3 separate regions of the Homo sapiens genome follow, and regions 1 and 3 are each linked to region 2. The links are contacts of gene promoters, found by promoter capture Hi-C in blood cells and fetal thymus (Javierre and others, 2016). All regions are on one chromosome and are shown on one strand. The core of a region is centred on a gene start or on the middle of the fragment in contact, and the rest is flanking DNA. Distances in the headings are between cores, read along the strand shown. Region 1 overlaps NLRC4 (NLR family CARD domain containing 4). Region 2 holds the start of BIRC6 (baculoviral IAP repeat containing 6). Region 3 overlaps SPAST (spastin).

Region 1 (2,939 bases), core at 432-2,931, 130 kb before region 2:
AAATATTCAGTACTTGTTTTCAAAACTGGAGTCAATCTTTGGCAATATTAAGTCGTTTCCTCTTCTGAAAAAGTAAACACCACCTAACTGTTGTTTCTATGGGTATGTTCCTAACTGTAAACTTGAGTAAGTGAGCCTCCTTCAGTATCTAAAGATTTGGGTGTTTTTGTTTACCTGTTTATGTATAACCCTCCCGAGCCTCTTCAGGAAGTTCCTCCATTCCTTACAGAATAGGGCACCTAAAGTATTTCCTACATAGGGTAGGTGGATATCCTGTCTTTCTGATACACAAAGAATGCACACACACACACATACATACAAAGGATGTGTGTGTGTGTGTGTGTGTGTGTGTGTGTGTGTGTATACATACACAAATAGTTTAGTGTTCATTCTTTATCCCATGTTACCAGTTTAGGTGGTACTGGAACCCAAGTGAGTCTTGCAATAAGAAAAAATACCTTTCTTTCAGGTTATTTACCATCATACAGATTGGCCAGTATACAACATTAGGATTTCACAAAACTAGCTCTGTGTTAATTACACATATTAAATTGTGCAAAGCGTTAGCCCTACCCACCTACCTGGCCCTTTCTGGATGACTAAGTTCACCTTGAAGTACAGAGTGGACAGACAGGCAGACTGGACATGGGAACTCTTACTTACATGTTTATACTCCAGAGTATCACACACAAAATGCAGAAGATGTATGCCTGGTTTATCAATCCACATTACTCGGCTCATCCGAGCTCATCTTAGTCTTAGTGTACCTCACCCAACTTTGGAGGGTTAATTTGTTGTATATTAAACTTGTGTTTCTTGGGAGATGTGTAATATTAGATAATGTTCCAGAAACTGACCCTTATGGAAATGAAGGTCCATGATTCAGTTTGGATTCCAAGTAGGAAAAGAGGTTTTAAAAGTTCCTTTCCATTGTCTCAGTGAGAAGACCACTAAAGAGTTCAAGTTAAAGAAGGAAAGATTCGGTGCTGTACAACCTTAAGGTTAGCAAGCAAAGACTAAAAGGTATCTGCTACCAGTAATGAGGGCTTAATGACAGAAATGGACAGTCTTGTCCGACCAGCTTACGTGGGTGAGGTCAACCTAGTTATGCACTGAAACTATACCCTTACCCACTTTCAGTAAAGGTGTTTACCAGCTCCGTAGTGAGAGGAGATCTGTGAATTTGGTGTCTGATGTCACTGCATGGCCTTGTGTAGTTTGTTCAGTGCAACTAAGTACATTCTAGAGTGTGTCCTTAGTCAATGTCAGCCAATGCTTTTATCACCATCATAAGGTCTTGAGTTTCGAAAGGTCTTCAGGTTCTTCTTTACAGACACCTAAAGTGATTGGCCCTGCCTGACCGTGGTCAAGATGCTAGCGGCTAAAGTGGGCAAAGCCAGGTAAGGAGATGATTCACAGGGTTCTGCCTTCATGTCTCTTACCCATGGTCAGTGTCACTGACACCATCTTTGGGCCTTCTTTGCCACTTTTATTAATTTGAAAAGTGAGACAGAGGCCGGGTGCGGTGGCTCATGCCTATAATCCCAGCACTTTGGGAGGCCAAGGCGGGCAGATCACCTGAGGTCAGGAGTTTGAGACCAGCCTGACCAACATGGAGAAACCCCGTCTCTAGTAAAAATACAGAATTAGCCAGGCGTGGTGGTGCATGCCTGTAATCCCAGCTATTCGGGAGGCTGAGGCAGGAGGATCACTTGAACCCAGGAGGCAGAGGTTGCGGTGAGCAGAGATCACACCATTGCACTCCAGCCTGGGTAACGAGTGAAACTCCATTTCAAAAAAAAAAAGAGAAGAAAAGTGAGACAGACTGCTAGTTGTTCCCAAAACTGTCTCTCCTTATTCCATAGTTAATAGAGTTTTATTTCGGCATATGGCCACTCATATCCCAACCTCCCTTGCTATTAGGTGTGGCTAAATTTTTGCCAAGGAAGTATAGGCAGAAGTGATGTGTGCAACTTCCATGTCACTTTTCCGCTTTTCCCCTCTTCTACTAGGTTGAAATGATCACAGGGCAGTGACCTAGCTATGGCCATAAAGTCAAAAATAACACTCTTAAGGAATAGAGGAGTAAAAAAAAAAAGTAGGGGTCTGGGCCTGAAAGACTGCACAGAGGAAAACCACCCCACCTGCCTGGACTGCTCATTTCTGGACTGTTACATGATAGAGAATCAAGTTCTGCCTTCTGTAAGCCATGGTATAGTTGGGTCTCTGTTATCACAGCGTAGCCTATGCCCAGCCCAAATAGTACCTAGGTCCTTACTTTCCCCTGCCTTCCACCTCCTCTGTTCCTTGGAGGATGGCTTTCTCCCTGCTCTCTCTTCCATCTCATGTTCATGTCCTTTCTGCCTTTGCCCCTTCTCCATATGCTTCCCAGCATGGCATGCACTCAGTCCAAATGCTGGTTGCCAGTTGTGTGTCTATTTAAGGCTCTTTCCCCAAAGATCAACTTTTTTTCTCCTTCTCAGCTAGCAGAACATATTTTCACCACCTAAAAGGAATTTAAGAAGAATTTAAAGCCCATTCCACCCTCACAGGGTGAGCAATTTATAGTGGTTATCTACTAAGGTATAAGGATCTTATCATCAATTTAAGAGAGTTTCTTAGATAATTATTGGAATGTGTGCTAGTGCAGGAACCAAGAACAAACAACATTTGTCATAAGCCAAGGGCATGCCTTTTGTTCATTTAATCTGCAGTGCTTATGTTATGAGGAGCAGACTAGATCCAAGAGAAACAGAATCCATGACATTTAGAGCCATAGGCTGTATGTGGGCTGTGGAGAGTGCAAATGGCTTGATTGGAATTCCAGGAAAAATCTCAGATGCCCTGGGTAGAAGGGTTCTGATTCTTGGGGGTTCCTGTATCCCAAACACAACTCTTCATTTGTGTTGTCCTGTAGTTCACCTGAACGAGTACCAGAG
Region 2 (3,269 bases), core at 43-2,542:
TTTAGGGACCCCCAAGAAGAGAGGAATACAGTCAAATCTCTAAGTGTTTCAGATGTAGCCTGATGGCTAATAGTTTAAGATGTAGTTCAGGTAATCCATGAAGATTTCCTGAAGGAAGTTCGCATGAATGTGAGAGGGCAATTAACTTTTATAATTTTTATTGAGCACGTAGTATATACTTGTCAGATGCTCTTCTACACATTTTACAAATGATTCTTAATCCTCACAACAGATCTTTGATTAGGTTTTTAAGGAAAACTAGTTCTTTCCAAAATAACCTAATGATCACAAAACATATAGAACATACAACTCTGCATCTTGACTATGGTGCGTAGGTCTACATGTGATAAAATGACATTGAACTATACACACATCATACAACTATCAAATCCCTCCTTTTGAGATTGTACTAGAATTATGTAATATGCAACCATTGGGGGAAACTGGGTAAAGAGTAAATTGGATCTCTCTGTACTATCTTTGAGTAGTGTTTAGGTATTTTATAAAAATAATGTCCTACAGTTTGGGTTTGTCAAATGGTTTTCTCATAGTTAGATAGGGGTTATGGCTTTTGGAGAGAAAGACCACAGAGGTCTGTAGTATATTTTCAACTGTAATCTATTTCAAAATAAAAAGTTTTAAAAAAATTCTCCAAGGGGGGATGATTAGTAAATTGATTAGTCCTTTCTAGACCTCCAACACACCCCACCACACACTCACACAGACCCACACTCCTATTAATTCCGGTAACTCGGGTTGTTTGGAATGTGGATAGAGAAACTAAGCTTAACTATGCGCTTCCAGCACCTCGTATCTGGTACTTCTGTTCAACAGAAAGCCTTGGGAATGGGGAGGGCAGGCGTGGTAAAAGGTACAGGTTTGGGAAGGTCGCTCGGTTCCTTCCAATCCAAACGAGAGGCTTCTGATTGTTTATTCTCACACCAGAGCCGTGACCGAGACCCAGAGGTCCGCTTCCGGCCACGGCCGAACAGCTGCACCGTGCGTACCGGGAACGGTCAAGGCGCAGCTGGAACCGCTGCAAAAGGCCTCCGGGCGTACCGGACAGGTCGCAAGGGCGGGGGTCCCCACCTAGCGGAAATGCACGGAGGCCAACCCCTCCCCCTGCCCCCGCGAGGAGCGGGGCGGACTCGGCAGCCGCCACTCCCCAGGCTCACAGGAAGAAACTGGGACGCTGCGGACGCGGAACTGGCCAGACCCGCGGCGCGTGGCACGCGCGAGCCCTCCCGCGCATGCTCCACCCGCCGGCCTCCAGCCCGCGCCCCGGGCCCCGCCTCCCTCCCTGCTTCTCCCCCTCTCCCGTCAGCCTCCCTCCGAGTTTGGCCCCTCCGGCCGGGCGATCGACGTTCCGCGTGCGTGCGGGCGCCTGACTTCACTTCCGGCTAACGCGCTCGGCTTGCCCCCTGGCCCCGGATGGTGACTGGTGGTGGTGCTGCACCTCCCGGGACTGTCACTGAGCCGCTTCCCAGTGTGATTGTGCTGAGCGCAGGCCGGAAGATGGCGGCTGCGGCTGCGGCGGCCTCGGGCCCCGGCTGCTCCTCGGCGGCGGGGGCGGGGGCGGCCGGGGTCTCAGAGTGGCTGGTGCTGCGGGACGGCTGCATGCACTGCGACGCCGACGGGCTGCACAGCCTGTCCTACCACCCTGCGCTCAACGCCATCCTGGCCGTCACTAGCCGCGGGACCATCAAAGTCATCGACGGCACCTCGGGGGCCACACTGCAGGCCTCCGCGCTCAGTGGTGAGTCTTCCGCACGCCGGGCGGGCGCGAAGCCGGGGAAAGAAGCCGTCCAGCCCCGGGGCTCGGCCTCGCGACTCGGGGAAGCGAGATGGCGAGAGGGCAGGGCTGGGGGTTCGGGCCCAGCCGTGAAGGGAGGCCCGGAAGCTGATGGAGGGGGACCTTAGGACTTGGCTTTTTCAGCGGCTGCAGTTGGGAGGAAAGACCGGCGAGTCAGGGAGTGGTGGGAGGGGAGTTGCCTTTCGGGCCTGGAGCGTCCGGTCTGGCTTGGTCCTCCGCGAGAGGTGAGGAGACCTTGGAGCTTGGCACCGGAGGAAGCGAGGCCCGGGTAGGCCCTGGAGAGGCTGTCGGTCCTGCGTCCGGTTAGATGAGAGCGAAAGGCTGGAAGGGTTGACCCCGGGCGGAGAGGCTGGTGGCCGGAGGCGAGGGGCGGGGAGCGTCTGAGCCGGCAACCAAGCCCTCCCTTGTGGGAGAGGAGCCGGCAGTCTGCTGTTCTCAGGTCCCGCAGTGCGGGGGACAGACCGCGGGCTGTGCGCCCAGCGTGGGGGTGGGGGTGGGGTGGGGGTGGGGTGGGTCGTGGTGGGGGTGGGGAGGGAAGTAGGCGGGCCAGCTGCCTGAACTGCTTGGTCGACGACTGTAGGACTCTGCGGACGCCGAAGACGACTAGACCTGGTCCCCTTGCTCGGGGCTTCCAACTTCTACGCCCCAGTGACGAGAAAGTCAGGACCTGTGGTGTATGAAATAGATTCCTTTGGGTTTGTAACTTCAGGCTGTCTCTACTTGTTTTCCCACAGCGAGCCGAAAATTAGGATTTGAAGGTGTGTCTGAGTCTCACCATTGGAGGAGAGCACTTCTGGGTGGCGTAAACCTTGGTCCAGGGACGGGACTTTCAGATGCGTGAGGTGTATGCTCAGTGGACGGACTGGAGTGGTTTTGGAATGGCCCTGGCTGAGTTAGATTTGGCGGAGATGACATTTCATTTGTGGTTAAATGATGGGTGGCTTAATTTGGATGTTGTAGGTTTAGATTGAAAAGTTAGTGTATGAGTGAATCGGACTCCTGCATAGAGATGTAATGTATACAACTGTCTGCGTTTAGCCAAGTGGAAGTAGTTATGTGGTCAACCAATTCACTTGTATTTTAACGTAGACGAACAAGGAAAAGTTTACTATGTGAGTAATAAGGCATTTGTAAGAGTAAATGGCAATTTAGGGATGCAAACGTGAAATTAGACATGTTAATTATTGTTGATGTGAGAGTTGTGAAAGAATTGGATTATGTATAGTTTCAGGATATAAACTTGGAACATATCTAAGAGAAAGTTTTGGGAGGTAGGTTTGTAATTTTTTCTTTTCTTGGCTTAGGTAAATGATGGGGTGGCCCAGATGTAGCAGTGAACAGTTACTGCAACTTGGACATAATGGCTTCTCACTGTGTGTAAGAGGGAGATGCTCATTGGTAATTGGATGTCTTTCTTTTTAAAAGTCATTTAAAAGTATTTCAAGTATGAAAAGGT
Region 3 (3,417 bases), core at 300-2,799, 230 kb before region 2:
TAACTGGTGCATTGCAAAACTGTGAAGTAGTTTCTGTCAAACCTTACACTGCTTTGTCTTTCTCCCTCTCTCCCTTTCTCTTGGTTGCCCCCTCCCCCTCCCAATGATACCTTAGTCTCTGCTTGCCTTTATCAAAACCTTTATGATTGGCCGGGCACAGTGGCCCATGCCTATAATCCTAGCATTTTGGGAGGCTGAGGCAGGAAGATCACCTGAGCCCAGAAGTTGGAGACCAGCCTAGGCAACATGGTGAAACCCCATCTCTTCCAAAAATAAAAAATAGAGCCAGGTGTGGTGGCATGCACCTGTAGTCCCAGCTACTCAGGAAGCTGAGGCGAGAGGATCTCTTGAGCCTGAGAGGTTGAGGCTGCAGTGAACTGTGATCATGCCACTGCACTCCAGCCTGAGTGACAGTGTGAGACCCTGTCTCAAAGAAACAAAACAAGGGGGGGCATGGTGGCTAACTCCTGTAATCCCAGTACTTTGGGAGACTGAGGCAGGAGGATTGCTTGAGGCCAGGAGTTCAATACCACCCTGGGCAACATAGTGAGACCCCCATCTCTACAAAAAATAAAAAATTTAGCTGGACATGCCAGCGAATACGTGGTCCCAGCAAATCAGGAGGCTGAGGTGGGAGGATCACTTGAGTCAAGGAGGTTGAGGTTGCAGTGAGCCACGATCATGCCAATGCATTCCAACCTGGGCGTCAGAGCAAGACCACGTCTCAAAAACAAAACAAAACAAACTTTTATGGTTGAAAGTGTTTTGGCAAACATACTTAAACTGAAATGTGAATCTCTGATGAAAGAACATGTTACCTGTAAAAGTTTGAAGTGTCAGCATTTGTTGCACCGAAATCCAGAGGTGAGGCCAGGTGTGGTGGCTCACGCCTGTAATCCCAGCACTTTGGGAAGCCAAGGCTGGCAGATCACCTGAGGTCAGGAGTTCAAAACCAGCCTGGCCAACATTGCAAAACCCCGTCTCGACTAAAAATACAAAAATTAGCCAGACTTGGTGGTGTGCGCCTGTAATCCCAGCTATTCGGGAGGCTGAGACACGAGAATTGCTCGAACCCAGGAGGCAGAGGTTGCAGTGAGCCGAGATGGCACCACTGCACTCCAGCCTGGGCAACTGAGTGAGACTCTGTCTCAAAAAAAAAAAAAAAAAAAAATCCAGAGGTGAATCCAGAGGTGATCACCACATGATATCCAGATAGCCTCTTTCCATGAGAGGCTCAAAGGATAATTTTACTGTCTACAGTTTTGCAGCGAGAGAAACTTGATTTTATCAGTACACCAAGAGCAGATCTATGTCTTCGGAACAGACATGAGATCAGAATTGTCTAGCTGCTATGAACAGCATGTTCTCTCCCTGTACCTATAGACATGTATGGGAAACTTATTTGTAAGGTTGTATAATGAGCAGTGAGTTAAAGCAAACTTGACATGTTGACCATAGTTGTTATGGCATTGGACTAAAGTAGCCTCCATCACTATGATAGAGATAGCCTTGGTGTTGGACCCATAGTTTTTGAAGTCTGTTTGCTAAGACTCCCTCTTCCTTAGGCAGTTCTTCAAATATTATTATGCTTTTTCCTGTCATGGGATTCCTCTTCATGGAGTTTCCTTTCTCAGGAACACTATCTTCTCCTGGTTAATTTGTACTTATTCTTCAGATACCAGTTGAAATGTTACAACCTTCCCTGACCCTCCAAACTATTCCCCGTTATTATTCTCCTAGCACCACTTGCACCTCATTTTCATACTCACTGGAGTTGCAATTCATATTCATTGATAGGATTATTTTAATTGTATCTGATATCACTGTCACCTCCACTAGAAGATGGTCTCCATGCGGGCAGAGACTATCACCATGTGTTCTTCACTTCAATTTTCAGTAGTTGGCTGTGAGTAGGTATTGAATAAATATTTGTGGAGTAATCATAATGAGGTATAGATATTATTCTCATAGCTCTATTTTATTAATTAGGGAATTACAGAATTCAGTGATCTGCTCAGGATCTCATAACCAGGAAGTGGGAAACTAGGATTTGAGCTCCAGTGAGTGTGGCCTTTCATTAAAAATATTACAGCAACCATTCTCTTTTTTTTTTTTTTTTTTTTTGAGATGGAGTCTTGCTCTGGAGTGCAGTGGCGTGATCTCGGCTCACTGCAGCCTCTGCCTCCCGGGTTCAAGTGATCCCCCTGCCTTAGCCTGCTGAGTAGCTGGGACTACAGGCACCCGCCACGACACTTGGCTAATTTTTGTATTTTAGTAGAGACGGGGTTTCACCATGTTGGCCAGGATGGTCTCGATCTCCTGACCTTGTGATCCGCCCGCATCTACCTCCCAAAGTGCTGGATTATAGGCGTAAGCCACCACACCCGGCCTACAGCAACCATTCTCTTTTATCCATACTTTTTTCAAGAGTACTGTTTCATCTTCATGTTTTCAGAAACAACATAGCATTCATGATCTTAACCCCCAATTCTGATACTGCCTGAATATCTTGAAGTAAGTTTACTTTTAAGAAAGTTGAGGCTAGGTGTGGTGGCTCATGCCTGTAATCCCAGCACTTTGGGAGGCCAAGGCAGGTGGATCACTTGAGCTCAGGAGTTCAAGACCAGGCTGGGCAACATGGCGAAACCCTGTCTCTACCAGAAATACAAAAAATTAGTCGGGCGTGGTGGCGTGTGCCTGTGGTCCCAGCCACTTGGGAGACTGAAGTGGGAGGATTTCTTGAGCTTGGGAGGTGGAGTTTGCTGTGAGCCGAGAGATCATGCCACTGTACTCCAGCCTGGGTGGCAGAGTGAGATCCCATCTCAAAAAAAGAAAAGAAAAAGAAAATTGAAATGTCTAGTCTATCATTTTGTCAGTTCTATCTAATACAATTTTTTCCTTATGTCTAACTGAAATCTGCTTTTTCTAATTTTTACATACTTGATTTAACAAAACTCAATCTTTTTTTTTTTTTATGAGACAGCCTTTCAAATATATAGGAACTTAATGTTATATCTGCTTCCCTCCAGTCCCCAGAATAGTTACTATTTTAGTTGTCTTTCTATGGTCTCATGCCAGTTTGTCAGTATGCCTAGATAAGAACTGAATATTTTACCTCAGATGTGACCTGACTTTGAAGACTTAAAAAGGAAGCATTGTGCCAGGCGCAGTGGCTCACACCTGTGATCCCAGCACTTTGGGAGGCCGAGGTGGGCAGGTCAGGAGTTTGAGACCAGCCTGATTAACATGGAGAAACCCCATGTTTCTCTACTAAATACAAATCTCTACTAAATACTAAATACTAAATCTCTACTAAAAATACAAAAGATGAGCTGGGCATTGTGGCACATGCCTGTAATCCCAGCTACTCGGGAGGCTGAGGCAGGAGAATCACTTGAGCCCAGGAGGCGGAGGTTG

The links. Contacts are between HindIII fragments. The CHiCAGO score rates a contact against its expected background, and 5 or more counts as called.
Region 1: a fragment that was not itself captured here is called in contact with the fragment with the promoter of BIRC6 in region 2 in 1 of 17 cell types (M2 macrophages); the score reaches 5.0 in M2 macrophages.
Region 3: a contact is called between a fragment that was not itself captured here and the fragment with the promoter of BIRC6 in region 2, in 1 of 17 cell types (monocytes). The highest score is 6.1, in monocytes.

What each region holds. Positions count from the first base shown.
Region 1 is chr2:32,225,085-32,228,023 of GRCh38, forward strand. The region is part of intron 8 of NLRC4 (NLR family CARD domain containing 4); the gene reads right to left. Among named protein-coding and RNA genes, the nearest start is that of NLRC4, 38 kb to the right of the region's middle. The HindIII fragment of the contact is 5,652 bases long and covers 1-2,939 here.
Region 2 is chr2:32,355,731-32,358,999 of GRCh38, forward strand. It overlaps BIRC6 (baculoviral IAP repeat containing 6), which reads left to right and starts at 1,293. Exons shown (of 74, transcript NM_016252.4): 1 at 1,293-1,756. The coding sequence starts at 1,432. RefSeq lists enhancers at 964-1,476, 1,991-2,503 and silencers at 980-1,349, 1,510-1,739. The HindIII fragment of the contact is 6,861 bases long and covers 784-3,269 here.
Region 3 is chr2:32,129,569-32,132,985 of GRCh38, forward strand. The region is part of intron 9 of SPAST (spastin); the gene reads left to right. Among named protein-coding and RNA genes, the nearest start is that of SLC30A6-DT, 34 kb to the right of the region's middle. The HindIII fragment of the contact is 3,991 bases long and covers 1-3,417 here.